Regions from separate parts of the Homo sapiens genome. Here all the other regions are linked to region 2. The links are contacts of gene promoters, found by promoter capture Hi-C in blood cells and fetal thymus (Javierre and others, 2016). All regions are on one chromosome and are shown on one strand. The core of a region is centred on a gene start or on the middle of the fragment in contact, and the rest is flanking DNA. Distances in the headings are between cores, read along the strand shown. Region 1 has its middle 430 kb from the start of STEAP1. Region 2 holds the start of ZNF804B (zinc finger protein 804B). Region 3 has its middle 23 kb from the start of SRI.

Region 1 (2,700 bases), core at 53-2,552, 970 kb after region 2:
TAAAGTCAACTTCATAAGCAAATTAAAATCAAGAAATGTGTTGTACATAATAAATACAATTTTATTTGTCAATTAAAAATTAATTTTAAAAGAGAAATGATGGAATTCGGGCACCAAAAGAAAAGGGAGAGATTAAAAAAGGGTAGTTAAAAGTTTATCAGAATACAAGTACTACTGCATCACTTTTCAGAAACACAACAAAATACAAGATCAGTACAAAGAAATGCTCTTCTCTAAGTTGTAGCCAACAGATGACTTACAGAATTTGTTTTTCTTATCTTTGTGGATCATGATAAAAATTTATTTATTCAGCCTGTAAAAAGAGAGATACCTAAAGTATATGAGGAAGGCAGTCATTATCTTTTTAATTCTGTGAGTTTCTGCCCAGAGGTACTTCCCACTCCTACATATACACATAGGAGTATAGTGAGGGGACTAAATATATGGGGAGATTTTCAGTACAGCTATCCTGTTAGTCTCCCTTCTGTCTCTCCCACAGTAAATAAAACACAAATGCTATTATGTTTCTTTATCAACACAAATATATCTAGAGCAACTAACAAAAATAGTCTATAATACTGGAGATATTTTTTCCTTTGGTGGCATGAGATCGTTTTTAAATGTTTTCTTTTCCTCACTTTTTCTTTTCCCTAGATAATACCTTCTGTTCAAGTATGTGATTCCATGTCTTAAAATACAGAGATTATACCATGTGATTCTTTAATTATTAATTTGTTTGTTATAGTGTTAATAATACCCAGGCCAGAGATATTCAAACAATTCCATGCTGCCAGTATAAGCATAGGAAGTGATACATTCTCTAAATTGATTTATACCCAGAAACATAATGTGAGCAATTCAGTAAATCCCACTGGGAATTCTGAAGCTAAGCTTTTGATTGTCAATATGTCTTAGAAACAAGAGTTTTCATATCATCTATTAAAATATCATGTAAACATCAATGAAAGTAAATATTATACAGTCTAAATTTTTCCAAACAATAGAATGAGAGAATATTTTTGTAGACCTTTAAGTCATACTTCAATATTTTAGATAAGATTAAAATAGTCTATTTTAGCCAGAAATTTAAGCCACATAATTACAAATTTAGCACTCACATATTAAACAAAGGAAGTGGTTAATACATTTGCTGTTTTACATTAAACATGCAACTTAATTCAAGTAAATTGAAAAATGTACATTTTAATGTCATCAGTCAATTTTCCAGGTCATTTCATTTCTAACATCTTTCTTAGTGACATTTGTGTTACTCTGTCTTGTTTGTCATCTACACATTTATCTCAAAGGTGATATTCTGGCATAGGAGAGAGTGTGCAGACTGTGGGAGGAAACATATTTGAGTTTAAATCACAGACCTAACACTTAGTAATGGTGTTACCTTGAAATACAATGTTTCATAGGTGTTACCTAAGAAATACAATGTTACTCTATTTCATTGAGCTTCAGTTTCACATCTTGAAATGGGGATAAACTACCAATTTCCCAGATTTGTTGTGAGAATTACATGACATGAAACACTGACCACAGCATCTGACAAAACCTACATAAAGGTGCTCAGTAGGGGGAACCATAATTGTTACCTCCTTCACTGTGTCATGTCATGGGCGTTAAAGGATGATACCTTGTTCCTTGTTGGACCAGCTAAACTCATAGCATGTCACCTTTCTAAATAATGGTTAAATTGAATACAATTAAGCTTCTCAGCTGACAGAGTTAAAGTACTCTAGAGTTATATTGGTTAAGAAGAAAATGTTAGAACAAAATAGAGAAACACAAAAACACGAAAGAGAAAACACTACTTACCAATAATACCAAAAGTAAAAGTACAAACTTGCTAAAAGCAAAAGGAAGTAACATATATAAACTCAGGTATATCATTTTTGCCTACACATTTAACAGACATTTTCTAAAATTATAAAACACAAAATAAATGAAACTATGACAAAGTAGACACACACACAGTGCTAGGGACATATGGTCAAGCCTTCTAAAAAACAAGTTGAAGGTTTTATATATATATATATATATATATATATATACATAGAGAGAGAGAATGTGTATATATGTGTATATATAGAGAGAGAATGTGTGTGTATATATGTGTATATATAGAGGATGTGTGTGTATATATGCATATATACATAGAGAGAGAATGTGTGTGTATATATGTGTATATATAGAGAGAGAGAATGTGTGTATATATGTGTATATATAGAGAGAGGATGTGTGTGTATATATGTATATATATATAGAGAGAGAATGTGTGTGTGTATATATAGAGAGAGAGAATGTATGTATATATGTGTATATATAGAGGATGTGTGTGTATATATATAGAATGTGTGTGTACATATGTATACATATATACACACATATATATACATATATCACACACACAATATGACATAAATGCTGTGCTAGCAAATTTTATGTGTACTGTTTGAATCATGGGATGCCCAGATATCTGGTTAAACATTAATTCTGGGTGTGTCTGTGAGGATGTTTCTGGGAGATTAGCATTGAATTGGCAGACTAAATAAAGAGAATTGTCCTCCCCAATGTGGGCAGGCACTATCCAGTCCACTGCAGATCTGAATGGAACAAAAAGATAGAGGAAGGGAAGATTCTCTAGTTTTCTGCCTGACTGCTTGAGCTTCAGGTGCTGCCAGTGCTTCTAGT
Region 2 (2,700 bases), core at 113-2,612:
CTTTTAACCTGTTTCTGCTTTTGTGTCAATGTCAACCGGGATGCGAATGGGGCATTGTGGGAGACAGGAGAGGACAATACTGGGGAGAATTAGCGCATTGGCGGTAGCCTTTCAATTCCAGCGCTGAAGCAACAGACTGAGAGGAGGTGAACCTTTACCTTCTCCCAGGCACAGACAAGGCGAGGTGAGGCAGAGATGGATTGCAGAACCGCATTAAGCAACCGCGGGGTGGAGGAGAGTGCAGGGTGTCTCCAAACCCTGGGAGGGCTATCTTCTCCTTTCAGAGCACATTTCTGCCCAGGTCTTTTTATTCTCAGTGCAGCTCGCTCCCTGGTGGCTTAAATTACGGTAAACGAAATAAGGTCCGTTAAAAACCACTTCTGAGAGGGGTGATTATTGGGGGTTTTGAAAGCACAGAGGTCTTATAGAGACCAAAAATATGTGCCTCGCTAAGATACAGAAAGGCTTGTAAGTGAATCTTCATAACTCTGGGTACGTGCATGTATATGCACATATACGTATGCATGTCTCGTTTCTATACCTTATATAAGTTTTCTGCCCAAAACTTTCCTCGTCCGTGCGTTCCCTACCACGGCGCATCTAATCTGTCTGCCCTATTTGTGGCTGCACAGCTCATTCTTGCAACCGGCTGGGGAGCTGTTGCTTCTGCCAACGCCGCCGTCAGCCAGAGCGCTGAAGAAAAGCTGAAGGCCAGCAGGCAACGAAAGAGTAAAGAAAACGCCCTCCTCCTGCCCATCTCCTCCACCACAGCCTCCCCAGTCCTCCCAGGTGACTCCCAAACAGTAGAAAGTTGGCTCAGAGATAGGGCAGAAGAACCGGGGGGCTGGGCGGCTGAGGCCGGGAGGTGGGAGAGGCGGGTCCTGCAGCCCCGAGAGCCCCCCGCGGCTGCAGCGGCAGCTGTCACCTCCTGGCCTCGCCCCACAGCACACCTGAGCCTCCTGGGCAGCCCCGAGCCCACAGCTCCCAGCAGAGGCGCTAACTGCCCTCCTCAAGCACAGGTCGCCGCGTCCCCAACTCCCTGTCCTCACCCCGGCCCGCCCGTCTCCTCCTCCGCCCTCTCCCGACTGCAGCGGGGGCAGCGCTTTGGCGCTCCCAAGGACTCCCCGCCACTCTCCCCACAAAGCAGCGGCGGTGGCGGCGGCTGCTGCTGGATCTTCACACTGCAGCCAGCAGCCCAGGACGCCCCCGGCCGGACGATGGGTACCCGCGCCTGAGCATCCCCCGGGCAGGCGCCAGGCGCGAAGGCAGGGGGCGGGAGGAAAGGGGCGGGGGAATTCCTGATTCCCTGGTGGACCCTGGAAGTTGTCCTTAAATAAATATATCGCTGGCCCGCGGTTGAGCAGCCACCTCGTCAGAGCAGCATGTGGACTGGCTCGCCGGGTCCCCTCCGTGCTCTGTGCTGTCGCCGCCGCCGCCTCTGTCAGAGCAGCAGCTGTCGGCAGCAGGAGCCCCGCACGGGGCGCGGAGCAGGGACGCGCTGCCACCGCCTCCCCCTGCGTCCTGCTGGCCGCGTCTTCTCGGGAGGTGGTAGTCGCTGTTGCCGCTGAGAAACCCGCCCGCTTTCCACGGCTGGTCGCCTGGTGAGGAGTTGAGACTCTGCGCCTCCGCCCGGACCCACATGGCTTGTTACCTGGTCATCAGTTCGAGACATCTCAGCAATGGGCACTACCGGGGCATTAAAGGAGTCTTCAGGGGACCCCTGTGCAAGAACGGATCTCCCTCTCCGGTAATGTGCGCGCGCACACACATACATACACAAACGTTCCAACTCAACACAAACAAAAAGATATTGAGAGATAGTATCCTGATACAATGAGTAGGTGGTGGACATCTAAAACGTATACCTTATCCATAGGTATGGAGATACATCGTGTCCGTTTATACAATTTATTGACAGACTGTGACACAGAGAGGGGTGTGTATTTACATGTGTATTTTCAATTCAGTCAGTAGGATCTATAGTGCTACGGATGTAAATACTTACTGAATGCAGTCAACTGCAGGGCTCAGAAGGTAGCTCCTCTGTGCTATGTCAACTTACGAATCTGCTGATTTGAGCAGTGTAGAAAGTTTGAGTGGCACGTTATAATGTGCTTTTGTAAAGTCATCAGTTGAGATTAGTTTAATAATGCTACTGTTACTTTGTGAGAAAAACTCAAAGATTTTCCCTCAAATCATTGGCAAAAGGAAAGTTATAGGTAGTGAAAACTTGATTATATCTAATGCTCAACTATGCACATTCTTTAAGGGGAAGTAAGAGAATTCTTTATGGAAATCTGAGTTGGATAATTTATTGTATAATATACAAATATATTAACATGCAATTAACGTGATTGCTTTTTAACTTAGTAAACTATTCAATTTAGTTACTATTCAGTTTATTCACATTCTTTTTATAAAATAATTTCATCCAGATTATATGAGTTAAATACATTATTAATTCATTTCTTGGTACATGCTATTATGTTTTAAGGCTCCAAATATGTTTCAAGAAAATGTGTGTGAATGTGTATGTGTGTGTAATTTATATATATATATAATAAATATATATATAATAAATATATATATAATAAATATATATATATATTAGTTTTGGACTACTAGTGACTAAGTATCCAAACTTAAAGACCAACTTTTGAGGTTTCATATAAAAAACAGTATTTAAGTCTGTATGATATC
Region 3 (2,700 bases), core at 78-2,577, 520 kb before region 2:
TTTTTTTGAGATGGATTCTGCTCTGTCGCCCAGGCTGGATTGCAGCGGTGTGATCTCGGCTCACGGCAACCTCTGCCTCCTGGTTTCAAGCAATTCTCATGCTTCAGCTTCCTGGGTAGCTGGGATTACAGGCGCGCGCCACCATGTCTGGCTCATTTTTTTTTTTTTTTTTTTTTGTATTTTTAGTAGGGACGGGATTTCGCCATGTTGTCCAGGCTGGCCTTGAACTCCTAGCCTCAAGTGATCTGCCCTCCCAAATGCTGGGATTACAGGCATGAGCCACTGTGCCTGGCCCAAGTCTAATCTTTTTCATCCAAGATTCCATATCTCCAAAAATTGGGCACCAATTTACTTTCCCACTTTTTTCCTTCCAACAAGTCTGGGTAATTCCCATGGGATTGTCAGCCTGTTCTTGTCTGCATTTTTTGTTTGTTCATTAGTTCATCTGTTTATTAACGTTTTGAGTACCTATTATAAAGCTAATGTAAAGCTTGGTGCTCTGGGGTGATATGAACAAAATGCAAAAATTAGTTTGCGCTGTTCTGAAGCTTAGAATTAATCACCTCTTCTCTGCGACCCTGAAGTACTTTGTACATGCTCTGGTGCAGCTTTTTCATACACTGTTAATGGGTTAATCACCCATATATGGTAAATCTCCAGCACCTGGTAAAATAAGTGACTTATATTAGACATCTGTATACTTTGTAAACATATAGTTTATACAGAGAAACATGACATCTACACATGTAATACACATATAATAATACTATCAATACAAGTTATAGTTAGGAGACAAAGTGAGTTGTATTAACAGGAAATACTATAACAGTGCTAAGAAAAGGAAAAACCAAATAATTCCTTTGTTCATGCTGTATTTTCATCATTAAATGTCCTTCCTCATCTGTGTTCTATTCCATACCCAGCTGAATACTTCTTCTGTGATGTCACCCAAGACTACAGCTCTTATCACGTCTTGATGAATTAAATCTCTTTTTGCAACAACTTATCAAGTATACATGAATCCTCAATAAAATTATAAAACTTTCGGGCAGTCACTGGTAACATTTGCCTCTATGTCTCTTACAGTATCTTGTAAAAAACAGATCCTCAGAAATTATGGGATGATTTTGTTTGCCAGATGCATGGAATGAGCTACTTTAAATTTCACATAAAATTCTAAAGTAGACTCTTATGAATAAAATATTGAATGTAATGCATACATGCTATTTTAACTACTTGTATCTGTGTAATGCTTTACAGTATATAAATGTTTTATATACATTTTACTGCTGGATATTTTAAAATTTGTTATTCATGTTTATAATCTTTGTTTTACAGATGATTATAATCAGGTTAATTTAAGTCAAAGTAACTTGCCCCTGGTTTCACTAATAAATAGCCAAGTTAGATTTGAATTTAGGTCTTCTCAAACCAAATCTCTTGTTTTCTAATAATATTATATAGTGTACTAAATGTCCACATTAATTTAATTATAGAATACGAAAGCGATTAGATTCTGCTTAAGTGGTAACTGACACAAACATCATAAAAAGTAATAGGTTGTTATTAAAAAACAAGTTATTAGCAAAAGGCAAAATTTAGAAAAATTAGAAAAAGTCATGAATACACTGTGATTATATCAGGGCTAATTTCATTACCTCACACAAAAACAGTTAATTTACAAAGATAGGTTGCTAAAACCTCAGGGTTTTTTTTTTTTTTTTTTTGACAAATTGAAATTTTTAATGTAGACTTCTGCAAGACACTACTAGAAAAAAATATATATAATGAACATTAAAAAATTTAATTCTCAGAAAAGGATGAAAAACACTGATTTATAAGAAAAGAAAAAGGAGGCCTTAAACTCGGGAAAATTAAAATGGCAGTAAATTGAATGGAAGAAAACGAGTCTTTAAGGAGTGATCTAGTGCTGTGTCTCACAGGAATATGGAAAAGAGATCACCAACTTGTAGTTTCTATTACTCTATGTTTATTTGTTATTCATTTTTTTCTACATTAAGTAGCTTTTTTTTATTTTTAGTTTTTAGTTTCAAAATGTGTAGTATTTTATGTTTGGTGATTTTACAGCTAATGTTGCATTTCACTGAAGCTTGGTCAGTGGTATACTGCCCATATCCACAAGGTGTCATTATAACATTGTATTTGGTTTGAAACCTTTCTTGCATTTTTCACTCATTTGTTTTCGCATTTACAGTAAGCTTCAACAAGGACATTTCACAGTGGGTGCCACTGGAGGATGCTAGTTGCTCTGAGGGAAATTGCTAAGGCTAGAGGAGTTTTGAAAAAAGCTGAAGGCTGGACCAATGAAGCTACTGATGGGCAACACTGACCAGAACTGGAACAATTGGAAGCAATGTTGTTTTCCTCTTTTCTCACCTTTCACTCCCATTATGTAACCCTAGTAACAAAACACAATAGGCAGTTAGTGGGCAAGGGAGTCTGGGAAAGATATTCCGCAGAGTCCCAGCACAGAGCAGAGTAGAACAGAGTAGGATTGGAGCTGAGAGATAGTAAGTAAATAGGCAGCAGAAATATGTCAAGCAACAATACCCCATGTAAGTAGAAGGGGATGGTGGTTGGAATCCTTGTATTATTTAGAAGGAGAGTAAAAATGTTGATTCTCTTTAAAATTCAAAAAAGTTAAATATGCATATTACAATTTCTAGGGTACCTACTATA

Evidence for each region. The method cuts DNA at HindIII sites, captures the fragments that hold promoters and counts their contacts. A CHiCAGO score of 5 or more calls a contact.
Region 1: a fragment that was not itself captured here is called in contact with the fragment with the promoter of ZNF804B in region 2 in 1 of 17 cell types (naive CD4 T cells); the score reaches 5.1 in naive CD4 T cells.
Region 3: a fragment that was not itself captured here is called in contact with the fragment with the promoter of ZNF804B in region 2 in 1 of 17 cell types (megakaryocytes); the score reaches 5.3 in megakaryocytes.

Annotation. Positions count from the first base shown.
Region 1 is chr7:89,724,310-89,727,009 of GRCh38, forward strand. No RefSeq gene overlaps it. Among named protein-coding and RNA genes, the nearest start is that of STEAP1, 430 kb to the right of the region's middle. The HindIII fragment of the contact is 826 bases long and covers 890-1,715 here.
Region 2 is chr7:88,758,338-88,761,037 of GRCh38, forward strand. It overlaps ZNF804B (zinc finger protein 804B), which reads left to right and starts at 1,363. Exons shown (of 4, transcript NM_181646.5): 1 at 1,363-1,747. The coding sequence starts at 1,640. RefSeq lists an enhancer at 1,509-2,053. The HindIII fragment of the contact is 11,667 bases long and covers 1-2,700 here.
Region 3 is chr7:88,241,302-88,244,001 of GRCh38, forward strand. No RefSeq gene overlaps it. Among named protein-coding and RNA genes, the nearest start is that of SRI, 23 kb to the left of the region's middle. The HindIII fragment of the contact is 1,562 bases long and covers 547-2,108 here.